Regions from separate parts of the Homo sapiens genome. Here all the other regions are linked to region 3. The links are contacts of gene promoters, found by promoter capture Hi-C in blood cells and fetal thymus (Javierre and others, 2016). All regions are on one chromosome and are shown on one strand. Each heading gives the region's core, a stretch centred on a gene start or on the middle of the fragment in contact. The rest is flanking DNA. Distances are from core to core; before and after follow the strand shown. Region 1 overlaps PKD1L1 (polycystin 1 like 1, transient receptor potential channel interacting). Region 2 overlaps TNS3 (tensin 3). Region 3 holds the start of LINC02902 (long intergenic non-protein coding RNA 2902). Region 4 overlaps TNS3 (tensin 3). Region 5 overlaps PKD1L1 (polycystin 1 like 1, transient receptor potential channel interacting). Region 6 overlaps PKD1L1 (polycystin 1 like 1, transient receptor potential channel interacting). Region 7 overlaps TNS3 (tensin 3).

Region 1 (2,731 bases), core at 64-2,563, 160 kb after region 3:
ACCTGCTACCATAGAGGTCAGAGTTTTATTTTCCTTCCAATACCATTTTAGGGATACAACCAACATTCTAAGAAGGCAGCAACAACCTCCCCAGACTTGTCCTGGAAAAGGGTTAACGTTCAAATGGTGTTCGTAACTTTCGTCACATGAGAATGCTCTCTTTTATCTTTTTTGAAAGTTTCTCCAGTGTCATCAACCCAAGAGACTATATAGAATACAACAAAATAAAATTATAAATAAACTGCTCAAGGAATATGGACAAATATATTTCTCTTTTTTAAATTTAAAGACAGAGAATAGCTCTGTTGCCCAGGCTGGAGTGCAGTGGTGTGACCTGAGCTCACTGCAATCTCCACCCACCGGGTTCAAGCAATTCTCCTGCCTCAGCCTCCCAAGTAGCTAGGATTACAGGCATGTGCCACCACGCGCGGCTAATTTTTGTATTTTTAGTCTGGAGTGCAGTGGCATGATCTTGGCTCACTTCAACCTCCACCTCTCAGGTTCAAGCAATTCTGCCTCAGCCTTGCAAGTAGCTGGGATTATAGGCACGCGCCACCACACACAGCTAACTTTTGTATTTTTAGTAGAGACAGGGTTTCCCCATGTTGGCCAGGCTGGTCTCGAACTCCTGACCTCGTGATCCACCTGCCTCAGCTTCCCAAAGTGCTGGGATTACAGGTGTGAGCCACCGCGCCCAGGATATTTCATTTTTAAACATGGGAAAGGGGTTGAAAATAAAAGCTGAGCAAGGAATGGGATTATGCAAAATGCATATTAACTTTTTCTTCCGAACTTGGGATCAACCTCACCTCTTTCTGGAAGCTTCCTTGCACTTCCTCTGTTTTGGGGTGGTTCTTGTGTTTCCTTGTCAGGGTATTTTGCACACGGAACTAGAATCTTCCATTTCCTGACCTCCCACCCCATCAGCCTGAGGGCTCCTGAGGCTCTGCCATAGCCCTTGTGTCTATCTCAGGCCTGGGAAGCACAGGAATCTGGAGAATCCCGTGCAGCTCAGCAGGGTGTAATGGGATGGGGCCAATGGGTTCTGGCAGGAAAGGAACAGGATGCTCTGCTGGGACCCACTGGAGAGCCACCGGCCTTACACCTGCATGGTCATTCAAGAACCTATGCAGTGCTGCAGTTCAGCATTAGTGACTGTTTCACCCACTGCAAGATAGCTTTTCTGAGATGATCTCCTATGAAGAGGAGACGGAAAGCTCACCTGAGCCCCCGGCACACGGGCTGACGGGGTGCCTCCCGGGTACAGGCCATCCAGAAGTGTGGTCAGACTCCAGTCCCACCAGTCAGCGATGTTTCTCAGGCCACCCAAGCAGTTTCTGGCATTTCTTAATGCAAGAACAAAAATAAAAAGTTGCTTCTGCATCAACAAGAACAATGAAACGTGAGAACAAAAGCATGTTTTCTTGCCAATTTTTCTCTCATTCAGATTTCAGGTACTCTGCAGGAATTAAACTCAAGCTGCTTGCAGCGTGAAGCATGAAACCCTGGAACTCACTTTGCTCCTTAGTAGCAGGAGATAAGAGAGAATGGCGGGTGAAGCACTTGTTCATTTGCTCACTCCATCAGTCACTCAACAAACATTACTATGCAACTACTAGGTGTCAGGCACTCTTCTAGGCACTGGGAAACAGAAAATCAATTCTCTGCCCTCCTATGGGGAAACAGGCAACAAATAAGACAAATAAGCAAACATATACTATGTTGTGACAAATATGAAGGAGGAAAAAAAAAAAGCAGGAAAGACAGGCAAGTGGTGGGGTAAGCAGATGTTCAAGCAGCCATGGAAGCTTCAGTAGGTGGTGATGTCTAGCAAAGACCTGAAGGTGAGGGTGGAGCCCGTGGTCATCTGAGAGAGGGTATTAAAGGCAGAGGGGACGGCGAGGGCTTCCGCAAGCCTGAAGGGTGGGAAGGTGTCGGGGCCACAGGGCTGGTGCAGAGGGAGCGCCGGGGCTAGGGTAAACAAGGGAGGCTCTGGGACACACAGACCAAGACCCAGTCCTCTCTCTGCACTGACTGCCGACTGGGCGCAGCATGTGACTGGCCTCCCAAGATGCCTGTGAGTGGCAGATGTGAAGACATAGATGAAGTGCAGTGTTGGCACAAACACTAGTCTGTTTTCTTTCCAATTAACTTCTTCATTATGTTTATAGATATGCTTCATTTTTCCACCAAGGAACTGATTTAAGGGAGCACTGAAATAACATCAAATGAATGAAATTTATCATTTTTAGTTTGCTCAGACACTGCTATAAAGCCACATGCACAGGCCAAGGCTGTGCATGGCAGCAGCAGGGTGTCCATTTGGCTCTGAGCTACAGCCAGAGGCAAAAGGATAAAATCAAGTGTTCCTACGAGAAAGCAAAGTACCTCTCACCTAACTCTAAAAAACTTTCTCATACATAGCTTCCCATGAAGAGTCACTGAAGAATGGAAAGGATGGGGTGCTCATCAACATGCCCTCAGCAAACAGAAATGGCTCTGATGTGGCTGTTTCATCCAGGTTTCTCTCCACAAAAAGGGGAGACCAAAATAGTTCTCAGGAAAAGGAATTTTGTCATAAGGTGAGAAGAAGTTAGAAAGTCACCCAAGTACACACAGTTGAATGCCTGGTCCAGCACCAGATCCAGACTACTCCAAAGAATGAACACACTATGAATCATTCAGATGATGGCCATGGCTTTGGTAAACGAGGCTTGAGAGCAAAGTTGGG
Region 2 (2,847 bases), core at 205-2,704, 230 kb before region 3:
CATTTTACCCAATTAGGCTGGAAAAAACTGTGCCAGGAGCTGCAGCAATTAGCATGACTTAATTATCCAGGTCAGACAGAAGTGAACGCCTGCCTGCTCACGGGCTGACAATGATCAGGGCTGCAAACACAGCTCAGCATGATGGGACATAGATTCCAGCTTACTGGCAGCACTGCCGGCACCTGAGCTCCACATACACCGCCGCAGCCCACCCTCATTACACATAAAGGAACCACTGTCCCAGGCAGAAGTTCTGGAAAAGGACTCACTCAAACCATAACCACAGACACCAACAGCCCAGCCCACAGACCAGCAACACCAGCAGGAGAAGCAGAAACTATTGGACAGGCCACCTTCACCCAGGGCCACAGAGTGCCACCTTCTAGAACATACTCTTACAACCTACAACAGCAGATTGCAAACCACAGCCCAGGAGCTACTTCTGCCCATTACCTACTTTCCCACAACTTGTGAGCTAAGAGTTAGTTTTACATTTTCTAACTATTAAGAAAAAATTTTGAAAAGATAAGATTCCATGCCATGTGAAAATGTGTTGAAGTTCAGATTTCAGTGTCCAAACACAAAGTTTGACTAGAACATGGCCACTCCCATCTGTTTACCTACATCCAGGGCTGCTTTCACTCTCACTGCAGGGGTAGGTTTGAGTATTTGCAGCAAGACCACGGGGACTGAAAAGTGTAAAATACAATCTGGCTCTTTTTTTTTTGGAGACGGAGTCTCACGCTCTGTCCCCCAGGCTGGAGTGCAGTGGCACAATCTCGGCTCACTGTAAGCTCCGCCTCCCGGGTTCACGCCATTCTCCTGCCTCAGCCTCCCAAGTAGCTGGGACTACAGGCGCCCGCCACCATACCCAGCTAATTTTTTGTATTTTTAGTAGAGATGGGGTTTCACCATGTTAGCCAGGATGGTCTCGATCTCCTGACCTTGTGATCCACCAGCCTCGGCCTCCCAAAGTGCTGGGACTATGGGACTACAGGCGTGAGCCACCGCACCCGGCCTAATCTGGCTGTTTTTAAAAATATTTGCCAACCCCTGATCTGGAATCATATAAAGCCAAAAAGGCAGGGCCTCTAATATGTAGCTCCCTAACTTCTTGAGAAGAAACTACTGATCAAATTCAAGTCACAATTCTGATAAGCCCAGTCATACATGAAAGTCACCCAGGAGCATCCTTCTCTCTGTCAGTGAAAGTCAAGAGCATGCCTTATAGATACTCAATGCGGGCACTTGATACACTCTTTGCAGCTGAATCCTGGCACGTGCAATTATTAATGGTATGGCTACTAGTATACCTCTTGCATAAAACTATATTTGACAGCAATTCACCTACAAAGAAACAACACCTCAGCCAAAACAGGCACACATGGTGGTGACATTCACCCCATTATCAATCACTTTTGTGGCACTATTTATGGATGTATAAAGCAAGTATTTCTTTTCTTTTCTTTTCTTTTCTTTTTTTTTTTTTTGAGACAGAGTTTCGCTCTTGTTGCCCAGGCTGGAGTGCAATGGAACGATCTTGGCTCACGGCAACCTCCACCTCCCGAGTTCAAGCGATTATCCTGCCTCAGCCTCCCAAGTAGCTGGAATTACAGGCATGCATCACCATGCCCGGCTAATTTTTTGTATTTTTAATAGAGACGGGCTTGCTCCATGTTAGTCAGGCTGATCTCGAACTCCCGATGTCAGGTGATCCCCCCGCCTCGGCCTCCCAAAGTGCTGGGATTACAGGCATGAGCCACTGCACCCGGCCTATAAAGCAAATATTAAAAGATCTGAAGGGACAGATAGAAATACCACAACCGTACGGGACTTCAGTACCCCATTTTCAACAATGGACAGATCACCTAGACAGAAAACCAGTAAGAAAACAGGGTACTCAACCTGCACTTTAGACCAAATAGACCTTACAGACATATACAGAACATTGCATCAGAATACGCATTCTTCTGAAGTGCACACAGAAAGTTCTCCAGCATAGATGGCATGTTAGGCCACAAAACAAACCTTAACGAATTTAAGGAGACTGAAATCATATTCAGTATTTTTTCTTTTTTTTTTTTTAATGGAGTCTCCCTCTGTCATCCAGGTTAGAGTGCAGTGGCATGATCTCAGCTCACTACAACCTCCACCGCCTGGGTTCAAGCGATTCTCGTGCCTCAGCCTCCCGAGTAGCTGGGAATACAGGTGCATGCCACCACACCCAGCTAATTTTTTTGTATTTTTAGTAGAGACGGAGTTTTGCCATGTTGGCCAGGCTGGTCTCGAACTCCTGACCTCAGGTGATCTGCCCGCCTTGGCCTCCCAAAGTGCTGGGATCACAGGCATGAGCCACCGCGCCTGGCCTCAAGTATCATTTCTGACCATAGTGGTATGAAACTAGAAATCAATAACAGGAAGAATCTTGGAAAATTCACAAGTTTATGGAAATAAAACAACATACTCCTAAATAACTACTGGGTCAAAGAAAAAAAGTCAGAAGAGAGATTTAGAAATATCTTGGGAGAAACAAAAATTGAAACACAACACACCAAAACTTATGGGATGCAGCAAAAGCAGTTGTAAGAGGAAGGTTTATGGCAATAAATGCCTATGTTAAAAGACAAAAAACTCTCAAATAAAAAAACCTAATGTCAGGCAGGGCGCGGTGGCTCATGCCTGTAATCCCAGCGCTTTGGGAGGCCGAGGTGGGTGGATCACGAGGTCAGGAGATCAAGACCTTCCTGGCCAACATGGTGAAACCCCATCTCTATTAAAAATACAAAAATTAGCTGGGTGTGGTGGCACGTGCCTGTAATCCCAGCTACTAGGGAGGCTGAGGCAGGA
Region 3 (2,984 bases), core at 298-2,797:
TAACACACTCATTCCACAAATAGAGCCTCAGGCTCCTCCAGGCCCATGGCTACAGAGCCTTTCCTCTCCTAGAGTTTCTCTCCTTTTAGACTCACAAACTCTCTGCTTACCTGCAAGGTGACAGCCTCACTTGAGGAGGAGGAGCTGAGGTTCACTAGGTGGGAGCTGGCCCAAGTCAGTTTAGCTCAGAGGTCGGAGTCTTTGTAAGATGCAGAATGAAAATGAAGTGTTACGACCTCAACCTCCCTCTCCCATCACCCGCTGGGCAAATGCCAATGTCACATCCTTTAAACTGACTTCCTGCCTCCTAGGTCTCTGCCCTGCCTGGTTTAGATCGAAGTGATTAACCTTCTCCCGGGAGCTCGGGGAGGGAAGTCTGGCTGAGCCCTCTTGCCCTTCAGTTCTGCTGTCCTCCTCTACCCAGGTGGGTATTTGACAAGTTTGTGGATTTCAAGCAAAATGTATCTAAAATACATTGTCTTACAGTATGAACTAGAGGAAACAGTGTTTGAATGTTATCTGTTTCTTTTGGAACCAAATCATTGGGTTGGATGATTTATTAAGAAGTGAATCATCCGGGCCGGTGGCTCACGCATGTAATCCCAGCACTTTGGTAGGCCGAGGTGGGCTGACCACTTGAAGTTACAGGTTCGAGACCAGGCTGGCCAACACAGTGAAACCCTTTCTCTACTAAAAATACCAAAAACTTAGCTGGGTGTCCTGGCACACACCTGTAATCCCAGCTACTCAGGAGGCTGAGACACAAGAATTGCTTGAACCTGGGAGGTGGAGGTTGCAATGAGCCGAGATCACACCACTGTACTCCAGCCTGGGCAACAGAGCGAGACTCCTTTGTCTTGAAAAAAAAAAAAAAAATTAAAGTGTCCCAATCTGGGGGGAGGAACAGGGTCACTGCTATGAGAAAGCTAGAGATGGCCTAGGGTCCTTTCTAAAATTTCCTCTGATATTCCTCACACTTTCAAATGATTTCTCCTTTCTTCCCACTCCAGCCACAGACTGCTAGGAAGTACAGTATTTTTTCTTTTGGAAGAAAAAGTAAATGGGAAGGCACAGGATTTTTATTAATGCTGTTACTGATTTTAAAATAAGCTAAGAATGTGCCGTCAATCCAGTTGGCTGCTCCCTGCCGCCCACGGAGCCTGTAATCACTGCCTTACAGCTCACGAGAACAATGGCAACACAAGCAAACCACATCTGCATTTCCACATTCTGAGCAGCAGGTCCCTGAAATAGAGGCAGGGTACGGGAAATTATAGGACTTCAGTGAAACTGTAGGATTGCTGGGATTCCCACAGGCGCCCAGCCCTGGCTCGGGGAATATTTGAGTGTGGGAACTACCCTAGCATCTCTGCACTTACAGGAGAACCAGGGGATTCACCCGTCATGAGAGCAGAGCTCCTATACCCTGGCATCCTGCGCCCCAGGCACCCGAGGGATCCTGGGAAAACCCAAAGCTATGTGGCTAAAACTCCTGCTTTGGGGCTCAGGGTTCAGGGGGTACGCTAGACTCCTCTCCCCATTCGATTCTTGCATTTGGCAGACGAGTCACCCGGGCAGTGGGATGAGGATGGCACCAACAGAGTCAACAGAAGGAAGACGGCTCTGGCCGGGCCCCAGGGAGGGAGGCAGCGGTCAGGACAGTGGTCTTTGTGGGGCCTGGGAGGTGTGGATGCTGGGAGGGATGTGGGGGTGGTCCTGGATGACTGTTGTTCTTTCTGGACCTGGGAAGTGGTTACATGGGCGTGTCCACTTCATGATAATTTGATTTTTTGTCTTTTTTTAAAATGTTTGCTATCCATCAAAATTTGAAAAAGCTCCCAGGGCTTTGGTAACTCCCTGTGGGGCAGAGAGAGTCCACAGAATGTCAAGGCTGGATTTTCTGCCAGGCTGGAAGGAGGAGGGCTCAGGGTTGTATTTGATTTGTTTAGGAGATGGAAAGAAACTGGCCATGTCTTACACAAGGGAAAATAGTTGTTTTCCCAACATCTGGGGTCTCGAAGGCACTCGAGAAGTGATTACTTTGGGGGGTTTCTGCTTCTCCTGGCAGGCTGAGCTGTTCTGGCTGGGAGGCCTCACTTGTCTCCCCGTCCACACTGCTGGCCCGTGGGGTCTCGCGATGGCTGATGCTGATGTATGGGAAAGCCACGCACCCCAAGAGACTCCATCCTCCCAGTAAGCACTCCATGGAGGAAAGAGAGAGGTGGTAATCAATAAACTTGAGTCATTATTGATATTAGTTGTATTGAACATTTACCACGTGGCAAGCAGGGGTGCCGGGGAAAAAACGACTAAAACCTGGGAGGAAGTTTTTTTTTTTCTTTTGAGACGGAGTCTCGCTCTGTAGCCCAGGCTGGAGTGCAGCGGCGCGATCTCGGCTCACTGCAACCTCCGCCTCCCGGGTTCACACCATTCTCCTGCCTCAGCCTCCCGAGTAGCTGGGACTACAGGTGCCCACCACCACGCCCGGCTAATTTTTTGTATTTTTAGTAGAGATGGGGTTTCATCGTGTTAGCCAGGATGGTCTCGATCTCCTGACCTCATGATCCGCCCGCCTCGGCCTCCCAAAGTGCCGGGATTACAGGCGTGAGCCACCGCGTCCGGCCAAGGAAGGTATTTTTATTGGCCACAATTAACAGATGAAAAAGGCGAAGATCCAGGTGTGTTTGGAACTTGGGCCAGGTTAGGGGGTTACACAGGCTCAAGAACTGCCTTTCACTTGTTTAGATTCAGTCAAGACCAGAACAAAGAGAAACACGGAGATTTCTGTCCAGGAGTGGGCCTTCAGGGACTGCATAGCTTCTCAGTGCTCGACTTGCGTGATGGGATAAGTGCTCTTAGAGCTCACTCACCCCTTCTGTCATGTGAAGACACAGGGAGATGGCATCATCAATGAACGAGAAAGTGGGCCCTCCCCAGACAGCGAATGTCCTGGCACCTTAATCTTGGACTTTCAGCCACTAGAA
Region 4 (2,816 bases), core at 166-2,665, 170 kb before region 3:
GGAGCCAGGCGCCAGCAAACAGGATTCAGTTCCTGGTGAGTGACCTCACTCCTTAGCTTTCTCCTGGCACTGCCCCCTCCAGATCCCTGGCACCTGCCTTCTCAAAGAGTTTTCTGAAAATGTGCAACCGAAGGAGAATCGTAGAGAATCTCAGAGATCTGACTAATTGTACTTGTGGTTTGGAGTGGGCGGCGGCGTAATCTTGGCTTTTACCAGGATAACTATTTATAGCCTCTTGCTTATCTTACGCAGTCCAGTCCTCAGGGAGTATGTGACACATGGCCGTTCCTGTGTCTGGGACACATCATTACTCCACCATGGCTCTGACTCAGACGGATGTCTGGGGCAGGGGTCCTCTCTCAGGGCCCCTTTAAAGTTTGATGAATGGATGAGAGAATAAGTAAACAAATAAATGTAAAGCAAAACAAAACAAAAACAGCTTTGGAAACAGAAGGAGTCACAGACAAAACCTTACAGGATGGCGGAAACAGCCGGACAAGGAGACCCCATGGTTAACAGAGCGGTGTGACTTATCTCCCCTCAAGCATGGTATCTACTCAGTGCACACATGCATCTTGTTGCCTCACTCCACATGTGACATGCAGGCAAGAAATGTGCGAAGAATCAGGGCCCCTGCCTTTCAAACTCACTATCAGCATTCCTGCAATGGCATGTCAAGCATGATGAAAAAAAAAATGAGCTATGAAGGCAGGAAAACACAAAGAGGAAACTTAAATGCATATTACTAAGTGAAAGAAGCCACTCTGAAAAGGCCACATACTGTATGATTTCAACTCTGTGACATTCTGGAAAAGGCAAAACTATGGGACAGTGAAAAGGTCAGTGAAAGCCAGGGATTAGGAGGGAGAGAGGAACAGGCAGAGCACAGAGACTCTTTAGGGCCATGAAGCTATTCTGCTTGACACTATAAGGATGGACGCACGTCATTCTGCATTTGTCTAAACCCACAGAATGTACAACACCAGGAGAGAATCCTAATGTAAACCGAGGGCTCTGGTTACTAAGACTGTATCAATATTGGCTAATCAAGTGTAACAAATGTACCACAGGAATGGAAAATGTTTATATATGAAGAGGAAGAAGAGTGTGTCCAATTTTTTTTTTTTTTTTGAGACGGAGTCTCACTCTGTCACCCAGGCTAGAGTGCAGTGGCACGATCTTGGCTCACTGCAAGCTCCGCCTCCCGGGTTCACGCCATTCTCCTGCCTCAGCCTCTCGAGTAGCTGGGACTACAGGCGCCCGCCACCACGCCTGGCTAATTTTTTGTATTTTTAGTAGAGATGGGGTTTCACTGTGTGAGCCAGGATAGTCTCGATCTCCTGACCTCATGATCCACCCACCTCGGCCTCCCAAAGTACTGGGATTACAGGCGTGAGCCACCATACCTGGCCTGAGTGTCTGATTTTTGTATAAATCTAAAACTCTCTTAAAAATACAGTCTATAATACATTTTTTAAATTCACTCTCTGGAAGCACACGTTTGTTGAGACAATGAAAAGAAAAGCCTTGTGCAATGTCAGAAACTTGAGTTTTAAAGACGGCAGCCACTTAAGGATTTGGTCCAGAAGCCAGGTCTGTGTGTTCCCACATCCCTCTGTGGCCAGATGGGGTGCAATAACGGCCCACCACCTGGCCTGGCCCCAGGGTGTCCTACAGAAAAGGAGAGGTGAGCTCTGTAAGCCGGGACTGCCCGAGTCCCATCTCACCCCAGACCATCCACGGCTTATATGGCTAACCGGCTCGCGCGATAAGTTGGCACGCCCAATCTTGTCGAACTCCATCCATCACTTGTGCTGCACATTTTCACTGACAGCCTTCTCCTGCCAGGACTTCACTTGGAAATGAAGCAGACTGGTCCCTAACCCCACAGAGCTTACGGCTCACGTAATAGAAACTGCATAAAATGAATCGTTTTTAAGAAAGTGAGCTGGGGAACAGTAGGGGGCGAGCAGCCCCCAGGTTCTGCAGAGCAAATGGCAGGCAGCCTTGCCCTGAGCCTCCACATTCGCATCCTACTGAACTTGCTCCTCTCTTCCAAGAGAACCAGTCACAGGCCCTACTGTCTGTTTGCACATGTGCTGTTACAAAATGCAGACAAAAATGTCTCAGGAAAGACCTTTTGTGGGAGTGGATTTGCAAATAAAAATGCACATGGAGCACCAACCAGAGAAAAAGGGACATTCTAGAAGCAAAGAGTCACCTGTTGATAAAGAGAAAACTCATCATTTCTATAAGTACAAACATCTCATTTAGCAAAAACCATGACCAAGTGAACACAGAGGGCACTTGTTCTTTCAATGTGGCTAAAACCAGATTCCAGGACAGGAAGTCCCTGAAAAGAGACTGTATTTCCGTCACACTTTTCCTCCCTTATACTAAGGCAGGTAAGCTGACCACAGACAGAACCACAGGATGAGGCGGCCGGGCTGGGGATGCTCATACCGGCCTGCTCAGCACCAAGGAACCTATGGGGACTGTGCGACGGTGCTATCAGCTGCATTTGCTGGACAGTCAAGTGTCACTTGCTGTTCTTCAGCCTTAGCAGAGGCAGAAGCACAGTGCTTCCGTGCACAGAGCTGCATCCCTGCTGGAGCGCACACAGCTCTCCACTGATCTACAGGCTGCCCTGCCTCCCATGCATCAGGAGGGTATCTCCTGTGGATGGAGCCAGGTAAGGGAGTAAGGCACACCTGCTTGCTCTCCTCACCTCAAACTCCAGCTCTGATCACACATTCCCCAGCACTGTGGGGTTCTTTCACTGTTTTCACTGGACAGAGGGAAGCACCGTGGGTCGG
Region 5 (2,727 bases), core at 21-2,520, 240 kb after region 3:
TATCTTAGAGCTGCTTCTTTCTAACCCCCAAACATATCATGGACTTTAGGAAATGTAAATGAAATTTAAGACAAATACTTTTAAACCCAGGAATAGCAGAACATGTTATAAATAAAACATTCATATTGTTCTTTTACAAGTTTGATGCGGCCAGGCGCGGTGGTTCATGCCTGTAATCCCAGCACTTTGGGAGGCTGAGGTGGGTGGACTGCTTGCACTCAGGAGTTTGAGACCAGCCTGGGCAACACGGTGAAACCTCATCTCTACTAAAAATACAAAAATTAGCTGAGCGTGGTGGCATGTGCCTGTAATCCCAGCTACATGGGAGGCAGAGGCACAAGAATCGCTTGAACCCAGTAGCCCAGAGGGGGAGGTTGCAGTGAGCTGAGATCACACCACTACACTCCAGCCTGGGCAACAGAGTGAGACCCTGTCAAAAAAAAAAAAAAACTGACGCAATTTGAAAAAATACAGTCTAATACTTGCTATTCTTTCACTGGGTCTCAGCCTTGATCACTCTAGATTTTCTTCAGATGCACACAGTTCCCTGCTGATCAGTCTCCTGAGTAGGACCAAAGACAACGGAACAGCTGTAGGATTAGAACTCTCATTTCCACCTTCAACCTCTGTTTGCTCAGCCTCTCCAGCTCCAAGGAGCTGCTGAGAATATTCCAAGTATATACAAAGGCTGGAGGAGGCACCAAGCAGGAAGCTGCTTGGGGAAGATGCAGGGCTGTTCAGGAGCAAAGGAAACCTGAGGCTCTGACTGTGAGGTCAGAGACAGCAGAAGTTACCTTATCTGTCAGAAGGTCTCCAAGACCTAGAGAAAGACACAGACCCCCTGTGAAGACACTGAAGACTACAGAAGTGGCTCCCAGCTCATAGCCAAACCTCCTTCGGAGCTCCCATTACCTGGCCTGTCCCATAGGCTGGACACATCTTCTATGGCTTGCTGGGTTTAATTTAAAAATTACGTAGTTTATATATTTAGAAAGCAGAGTTTTATTTTTTAAGAAAGGGATTATAATCTGTAAGCAGGAAGTGTAGTCTCTGGCTAAGAAATTGAAAGTAAGTATTTGGAGGAGGGAGGGAGGGGTAAGAGGAATTTCAGTTGAATGCATTATCACATATTCACAGGATATAGGAGTTATGGATATCTATGGAAGAGGATTGTGTTTTTGTGTAATAAGTAAACATATATATGTGCTTTATGTTTACTTTTGGGTGGAGACAATATTGCAATGTATTATAATTAGGTCTTTTATGTTAAAAGGTAAAGTAGGGACATGAAGGCACTTAAATGCGTAGTCAAACTGGGCAGAATTAGTTTACGGTTGGTGTTTTTTATTAGGAAAAATTTATAGAAATTAGTTTTTTGTTTAATTAAAGTCATAGTTAAGGCTTGAGGAATGGGGGGTTAATTAGTTGATGTTTGGTGGTTGTAGAGTTGTAATTGTTTTAATACTGTTTATTTTAAGGCTAGTGTTTGTTTAGTTGATAGAGAAAAGGGGAGAAAAATCCTGTGGCAATGAGAACAGCTTATTTTTTAATTGTAGGACTGTGTGATTTCACTCTTGCCTGGCCTTAGGTCTTGTTTATAATTTGGTATCTTATTGTCATAAAGAGTATGTCCTGGCCAGGCGTGATGGCTCACGCCTATAATCCCAGCACTTTGGGAGGCTGAGGCAGGCAAATTGCTTGAGCCCAGGAGTTCGAGAGCAGCCTGTGCAACAGGGTGAAACCCTGTCTCTACAAAAAATTAGCCAGGCATGGTGGTATGCACATGTAGTCCCAGCTACTCAGGAGGCTGAGGCAGAAGGATCACTTGAGCCCAGGAGGGAGAGGTTGCAGTGAGCCGAGATTGCAGCCACTGCACTCCAGCCTGGGCAACAGAGTGAGACCCTGTCTCAAAAAAAAAAAAAAAAAAAAAAAAAGGAGTCCGTTCTGTCAGTCTTATAATCACTATTTTAACATTAATGTTGGTCAGTTGTTGTGTCTAAACTGTGAAAGGGAGGGGGCGTAATGAGGCATATCTGACCTTGAGTCCCATTATGGCCAGGAACTCCATTTTTTAAGTATTTTCTGGGTCCCCTTGGCCAAGAGGGGATTTGTTTAGTTGTTTGGGGGGGACTTAGGATTTTATTTTTAGTTTACAGGCTCTATCTACCTCCCCTACTAGGTTGTTCACACAAGTGTGCAAAGACCTTATTTATCTCCAAATCCCTCCCCCCAGCACACAGCCAGGTACAAATAGTGCTGTTTTCATTAGGAAAATGAAGAGCAGCCTCACCCTCCTCCACTCGTTCAGTATTACAGATTTTCCTTTGCATTTCCCCTTGGCTTCTTACAATTAGCCACCCATCAGGTCAGATGCTCCCCACCACCCCGAGGTCCCCTGACATTGACCCTGCTCTGCTCTCTATTCCCCAGCTGCCCCCTGCTTCAGCCTCTAATGACTTCTCACCTTCACTAACACTCTCCCAACATCCCATCCTTCAGTCTGTTTCCTACTCGTTCCCAATCAACATTTCTAAAGAAGAGTATACAGCCTGCTGGGAAAGCTCTGCTTTTTCCTACAACCTGCATCTGAAGTAATGCTATGCTAAGCCTGGTCTGCAGCCTGTTGTCACTTGGCCCATCGTTACCTGCCTATTTCGCGATGAGATAAGTACAGACACTGAGAGGAAGCTTCTGGCAACTCCAGCATTTGCCATCGCTGTGACATCC
Region 6 (3,033 bases), core at 102-2,601, 180 kb after region 3:
GCTACTTGATGATATTTCTTTATCCTCTTTTTACAAATTCTGTGCGCTGTTATTTTTTTAATCCCACCAATCCATAATTGTTATTGGATCTCTCTGATACCTGGTGTCATAAAGGAGCCACTATGCCCGGCTGTCCCATGGATGGGTCGCTGACCCCCACCTCGGAAACGGACCTTGTCACCACATTCTGCAGCCACACTACGACCCAGCGGTGAACCCGGTGGGCTGGGTGCATGAATGGCCATGATGTTGTCGTAGTAAACAAGTCAGTTTTGCCTCAGTCCACGTCCTGCTGTGTTGTTTTTTCCTCAGGAAAGAGAGGGTCTCCATTTTAACTGCTGACACTGATTTGGAAGTAATTTACTACATCTCATGAGGAACAATCAGACCAGAGTTGCCAGTGCAAACTGGCATCTTGAGGGAAAATGTGGCCATCAGAATGGTTCTACGTTCTTTTGTCCAGAGGATTTATTTAAAATCTAAATGAATTGCCAACTTAAAAAAAAATTCAAGAGTGTTCTCAAAGACAACCGGCTGCCAGCCTCTCTGGAAAAGTTCTGCTGCTGGGCCTGGGCACGAGCTCCCACACAGCAGCTGTCCACCGAGCCAGCAGAGTCAGAGCTGTGCAGGGCCACCCAGTGCCACACCGGGCAGAGCCCTCCTGTTCCTTCTCTGGTCCCCAGGCAGCCAGGCTTGCTTCCCCTGGTTTAAACTTTTCTCGGAGAACTGTGAGCTTTGTTGATTTCTTAGGCAAAAAGGGGCCACAGTGTAGTCGGATCTGGAAGCTGCTATAAGGAAAAGCGATGGCTCTCACCTGCTCTTGCCCTCCAGCAGCAACCAGGGCAGTGAGACACGCGTAGACGCACAGCAGGGAGAAGGACACGGTGAGGCGCGGCGTGTGCAGGTAGCGGCTGGAGGAGGGCCTGCTGTACACCGACAGCCAGACATGGAAATCCTCCAGGTACTCTGTGAACTTGCAATAGAAAAGCTGAAACGGAAAGCAGGAGAAGTGTTCCCTGACATGGAGCATTTCTGTCAGCAAAGCAAAGTACTGTTAAGCAGTGATCTTCTGAGCAGAGACCACGAGCTTTCTGGTTCTTCCATCCTAGCTGCTTAGCTGTGTACCAGGTGGGCTGTGGTGCAGGTAGACAGCACTGCACTCCCCACACTCTCTGGCTCTGCTATCCTGGCTGGTTAGCTGGGTACTAGGTGGGCTGTGGGTGCAGGTGAACAGTACCTCATTCTAAGCCTCTTGAAGCTGCTCCTCCTTCAGCCTTCTTGGCAGCCCCCTTGCTACAGCCACACTGCTATCACGCTGGACTCTGGCTCACCTGGCCTTCCTCTGGCACCTCCTGAGCTTTGGCACATGCTTCTCCGAGCTTCACCTGCATGGGTCTCAAATGCCTTCACTCCCAGCCTCAGGAGACCTTCTCTCCAGAGCTTCTGATCAGTCTCTCCTTGGTTCTCCTTCATATTCCTAAGAGACTTTCAAAAACCCCTCCACTCTCAGAACTTTCCCTGGCAACATAGTTAATTTCAACTGGGCTTTGAGTACACTGAGAGTGGGGCTGAGTCACCTCCACCTCTGTCCTCAGTAGCCCACAGTGTCTGGCACACAGTGGGAGATACGTTGTTTAGGAATTGCACTAAATTTTAAGTTCCAATTCAATTTAAATAATGCGTGGGGCTCAATATTGTTCTAGAAAAAACAAAAGTATATACAGAACTGCTCTTATGGAATATGAGCAGAGCACAGAAGCGAATGCCAGAAAAATCGTACTAACAGAATGAGAATATATCTTCTTTATGTAAATAAACTAGCCAACAAGCAACGCTCAATTCGCAGCACACACAAGTGCTCATACGTGACTAAATTAATAAGCCTACATTTCTCACAAAAAGCTCTCAAGCACAACAGCTGGAGGATAAGCAACGTATGTCTCCCGTTGTTAACTATGGTTCCTCAGCCAAACAGTCATTCTCACATGGAAACAGTCGTCTAAGAGGAAGCCCCAGTTGAATGGACCTTCAGTTTTAGATGTTGAAGAATTTCCACATGCTGTGGCTGATTGAAAACTTGTTTCAAATCCTTTGTGATCATGTTTCTTACTAGCTTAGCAATATGTCAGGCCTGAAAATGCCAAGGCCTTGAGCCTGGGCCTCTCATCAACGCAGGTGGCAACAGGGCGGGTTGGAAAGAAAGCCCAGTGGCCTGGCAAGGTCCGGCGACACTGGGGACTGTCTGAGTTCACTGGGCTTTTACCACTGTTTGAGACCCAGCTTCAGGAAGTACTCATCAGGGACACAGAGTCACACATGAAAGTTCCCACAATGTTGTCATTACCATAATAAATGAAAGAAAGTTATAAATGCCCAACAGGTCTTCAGCAAATGGTCATGCACAGTGGGCCACTATATAGCCCTGAAATGATGTTTTAAAAATTCATGAAGAGACCTACTCTAAAATGTTGAATAAGAAAGTGCAAAATGCAGCTAGGTGTGTTGGCTCATGCCTGTAATCCCAGCACTTTGGGAGTCCGAGGCAGGAGGATCACAAGATCAAGAGATCAAGACCAATCTGGCCAACATGGTGAAACCCCATCTCTACTAAAAATACAAAAATTAGCCGGGCATGGTGGCGTGTGCCTGTAGTCCCAGCTACTCGGGAGGCTGAGGCAGGAGAATCACTTGAACCCGGGAGGCAGAGGTTGCAGTGAGTCGAGATCGTGCCACTGCACTCCAGCCTGGCAGTAGAGTGAGACTCCATCTCAAAAAAAAAAAAAAAAAAAAAGAAAGAAAGTGCAAAATGCATGACATTATCATCACAATTGTATGAAATGTGTTTGTATATAGGGAAAGACGGAAAGGACATGCAAAAATCACGACTTCCATGGTTAGTTTGTGAGGTTATCTGTTATTCTGTCACTCTGGCTATCTCCTGCCATCCTGGACCTGACCACATCTATACCACATCTGTAATTACTCTATTGATAGTTATCTAGGTTGTTTGGGACACACATAGGGCACTGAAAA
Region 7 (2,765 bases), core at 223-2,722, 250 kb before region 3:
CACCTGGGTTAGAGAGACAAAACAAAACAAAGTAGCTGCAGCGGGGGACACACGTTCCCGGCAAGGAACACACTCCGCGGAGGCCGGCACAGCAGGGCCTCCCCTCTGGACTCTGGCTGGGAGTTCACGCTTTGGAGTGGAACTTCAGCCCTGGGGCACAGGCGCCTGCAGACAGCTGGGGTGCAGGCAGAGGCACCACACTGCTGCTGCTGGGTGCGGGGCTCCACTGGAGGCTTCAATGTGTTCCCTGTGCTGCTCCTGTGGAACCGCAGCTCTGAACACCACTATCGCTAGTCCTCAGAGAGGCCACACCTAAACCCTTTCAGACCACGTGAATGTGCCCTGTTTTGGAACACATCCGAAAAATAGAATTCCATGGTCTCTTTTTTCTAGACTTTAACAACTGATTGTGATAGCTTTTCTTTGATCTCAATGCTCCATGTTGCAACTTAAAGCTTTTTGTTTTCCAAAAAGCAGCAGCCGGTCATTACTGTGTGTACTATCCTAAATGATTATGTGCATGCTGTAATTTAGAGACAGAGATACAAAGAAGGAGGAAGGGAGAGAGGGAGACAGAGAGGGTGTTGGCATTTAGACAAGTGTTCAGAATCACCCTGATGTGATCTGAACTCAAGCTGGGGTTCATGAGGTCCCCAGGGTGCAGCTCAAGCACCCTAAATGATTGTGCCAATGAGCCAAAGGGTAGAGCAAGCCCCTCCTTGCAGATGCTTGGCATGTGGGGAACGGTGGGCAGAGCAGGAGCCTGAGTGTCCTGACCTGCCTGTATAACTAGGTCCCCCCTGCTTCTTGTGACCGTGCGCAGCACTGGCATCATTGGAAGGGTTCTCAGGCCACAGCTGGGGGAGCTGCAGGGACAGGGATACCCCTCACTCAGAGATCAGGGGCAGGACCACCAGGTAGTGGCACTTTCCCAAATCCCCAGAAGGCCGAAGGCCCTGGACAGGCTGGATTCTGCTCTCAGACCAAATCGTGCACAGGCAGGTACCTCCCCAACCCCGAGGCTGTGGGGTAGTGACTACCAGAGACAGCCACGTTCCCATAAAAGAGACTTTTCTTGGAGAAAGATGGCTTTAAAATATCACATGCCTCACAACAGTAAATGAGAAGCCACCGCAGCAGGTATGATCCGGACCAGCATGCGGGAGAATTCTGCAGGGAGGGTCTTCCCTAACCAGATGAACATCCACCAGAGGAACAAAAAGCCCAGAAACCCAGCCCAGGAGGCAGGGAGCTGTGACTCCAGGCAGACCCAGAAGATGTTTACCTTTGTGCTATCTACAAGGAAAGGGACGGGTAAATAAACCAAAAAAATATAATTAAGACTGTGGAAGGATGTTCCCTGTTGACAAACATGACTGGGTCTCCCTTGTACGGCCTGGCGCTGGCCAGCGGTGCTGTAAACATGGGGCTCAGACTCAGGCCTGGCCTCCAGGGGCCCAGGAACCAGGGCGTTTGCAAGTAGAAAACTGGCATTGTGAAGAAATGTTGCCTCAATTTGCTTTCCAACAGCCAATGGCACGTTGGCCACAAATCTACCACCTCTGTCCGAGACTGACTTCTCAGCAAGACTCAATCAAAGGCTGCCCTTGCAGGGATCCTTCCAGGATGTTCTGAGAGTATCTGGGCCCCTCCTTTGAGCTCCCCATGCCCCACACTCACTACACTGACCACCCATCAAATGCTTCAACCTGGGGCATATTGTAGAGATCCCCAGAGGGAGGTCCTTCTGGCCAAGGGTAAATCCACACATGCACCCCCATTGATAGAGATGATAGCACCCACCTTTCCCTGTCTGCCTTCAAATGTGCCTGTCTGCCTCCACTAGTGCCTTGCAAATGGGGAGTGAAAAGTGGTTAGGGAAGGGAAAAGGAAAAGAGATGCCCCAATTCAAGCCAGTCTTGCTCTCAAATTTTATAAATATTTAAGGGAACCAGAGATTTAAAAAAATAAAAACAACAACACGATGTCAGCTGATAGCTCACGCAGCCTGTGCTGCCATGGGCGCCAACATTTGCCCACAGGAGTCAGGAAACTCCTCAGGAGGCAGCTGTGGGCTCAGTCCTGGCAGGCAGGGAGTGTCCTGGGTGAAAACAGAGGGAGCTGTGGGCTCCAGTACGGGCCACATAAGGGGCACAGTGGAATATCCCCAACCGCAGCTCACCGTGCCCCTCCCGTCAGTACCGCCCCGCCCAGCGCAGGGCCTCCTTCCAGGCCAGGTCCTGCCCTCCCTCTTCAGGAATCCAGGATGCTCCCCCAGGTCCCCCCACTGCTCCTCATAGCAGCTACACACAAACACACTGCTCCTCCCGCAGCAATCCCAGCTCCCTCCACATACCAGAAGGGAGGAGAAGGCAGGCCACGGTGCCCAGGAGGTACAGAGTGGCAGGAGATGGGAATCGGCCTGTCCCAAACAGGTTCCTCTCCAGGCCCCATATGATTCTCCTGTAAGATTCCTATTTTTCACAGCACAAGCTTTCAAATACTCCTAAGGCTCCACAGTGAAAGAAAGAGCGGTCTATCCCACTGGCAGAGAACAACTGCTGCCTGAAATCACGTGGCCCTCCCTTCAGGGGTTTCTCTGTGTATTTTAATGCTAACTTTGTTTGCTGGCTTGAGATCCTAACGGCCTCATCATACACAATCCCTGTTTCATATTAAACCTCTTTCCTCTTGATTAATGGAGGTAAACACCACCCTCCCCAGTCCTCCTGACCAAATCATGAACTGACTCCAGCTTCTTCTGA

What was found. The method cuts DNA at HindIII sites, captures the fragments that hold promoters and counts their contacts. A CHiCAGO score of 5 or more calls a contact.
Region 1: a fragment that was not itself captured here is called in contact with the fragment with the promoter of LINC02902 in region 3 in 8 of 17 cell types (total B cells, naive B cells, M1 macrophages and 5 more); the score reaches 34.9 in total B cells.
Region 2: a fragment that was not itself captured here is called in contact with the fragment with the promoter of LINC02902 in region 3 in 6 of 17 cell types (total B cells, naive B cells, M0 macrophages and 3 more); the score reaches 15.2 in total B cells.
Region 4: a fragment that was not itself captured here is called in contact with the fragment with the promoter of LINC02902 in region 3 in 8 of 17 cell types (total B cells, naive B cells, M1 macrophages and 5 more); the score reaches 30.7 in total B cells.
Region 5: a fragment that was not itself captured here is called in contact with the fragment with the promoter of LINC02902 in region 3 in 1 of 17 cell types (total B cells); the score reaches 6.0 in total B cells.
Region 6: a fragment that was not itself captured here is called in contact with the fragment with the promoter of LINC02902 in region 3 in 4 of 17 cell types (naive B cells, total B cells, M1 macrophages and 1 more); the score reaches 11.8 in naive B cells.
Region 7: a contact is called between a fragment that was not itself captured here and the fragment with the promoter of LINC02902 in region 3, in 4 of 17 cell types (total B cells, naive B cells, M0 macrophages and 1 more). The highest score is 12.9, in total B cells.

Annotation. Positions count from the first base shown.
Region 1 is chr7:47,814,112-47,816,842 of GRCh38, forward strand. PKD1L1 (polycystin 1 like 1, transient receptor potential channel interacting) reads right to left here. Exons shown (of 57, transcript NM_138295.5): 47 at 1,223-1,346. The region is part of intron 2 of PKD1L1-AS1 (PKD1L1 antisense RNA 1); the gene reads left to right. Among named protein-coding and RNA genes, the nearest start is that of PKD1L1-AS1, 20 kb to the left of the region's middle. The HindIII fragment of the contact is 986 bases long and covers 821-1,806 here.
Region 2 is chr7:47,428,656-47,431,502 of GRCh38, forward strand. All of the region lies in intron 8 of TNS3 (tensin 3), which reads right to left. Among named protein-coding and RNA genes, the nearest start is that of SNORD151, 35 kb to the right of the region's middle. The HindIII fragment of the contact is 8,256 bases long and covers 1-2,847 here.
Region 3 is chr7:47,653,697-47,656,680 of GRCh38, forward strand. It overlaps LINC02902 (long intergenic non-protein coding RNA 2902), which reads left to right and starts at 1,548. Exons shown (of 3, transcript NR_171030.1): 1 at 1,548-1,652. The HindIII fragment of the contact is 4,908 bases long and covers 1-2,984 here.
Region 4 is chr7:47,482,057-47,484,872 of GRCh38, forward strand. All of the region lies in intron 3 of TNS3 (tensin 3), which reads right to left. Among named protein-coding and RNA genes, the nearest start is that of SNORD151, 19 kb to the left of the region's middle. RefSeq lists an enhancer at 1-482. The HindIII fragment of the contact is 5,942 bases long and covers 1-2,816 here.
Region 5 is chr7:47,894,421-47,897,147 of GRCh38, forward strand. The region is part of intron 14 of PKD1L1 (polycystin 1 like 1, transient receptor potential channel interacting); the gene reads right to left. Among named protein-coding and RNA genes, the nearest start is that of PKD1L1, 53 kb to the right of the region's middle. RefSeq lists an enhancer at 2,281-2,727. The HindIII fragment of the contact is 2,832 bases long and covers 1-2,686 here.
Region 6 is chr7:47,836,107-47,839,139 of GRCh38, forward strand. PKD1L1 (polycystin 1 like 1, transient receptor potential channel interacting) reads right to left here. Exons shown (of 57, transcript NM_138295.5): 37 at 815-988. Among named protein-coding and RNA genes, the nearest start is that of PKD1L1-AS1, 42 kb to the left of the region's middle. The HindIII fragment of the contact is 9,294 bases long and covers 1-3,033 here.
Region 7 is chr7:47,400,912-47,403,676 of GRCh38, forward strand. It overlaps TNS3 (tensin 3), which reads right to left. Exons shown (of 31, transcript NM_022748.12): 14 at 1-3. Among named protein-coding and RNA genes, the nearest start is that of SNORD151, 63 kb to the right of the region's middle. RefSeq lists enhancers at 1-472, 2,219-2,727. The HindIII fragment of the contact is 2,038 bases long and covers 454-2,491 here.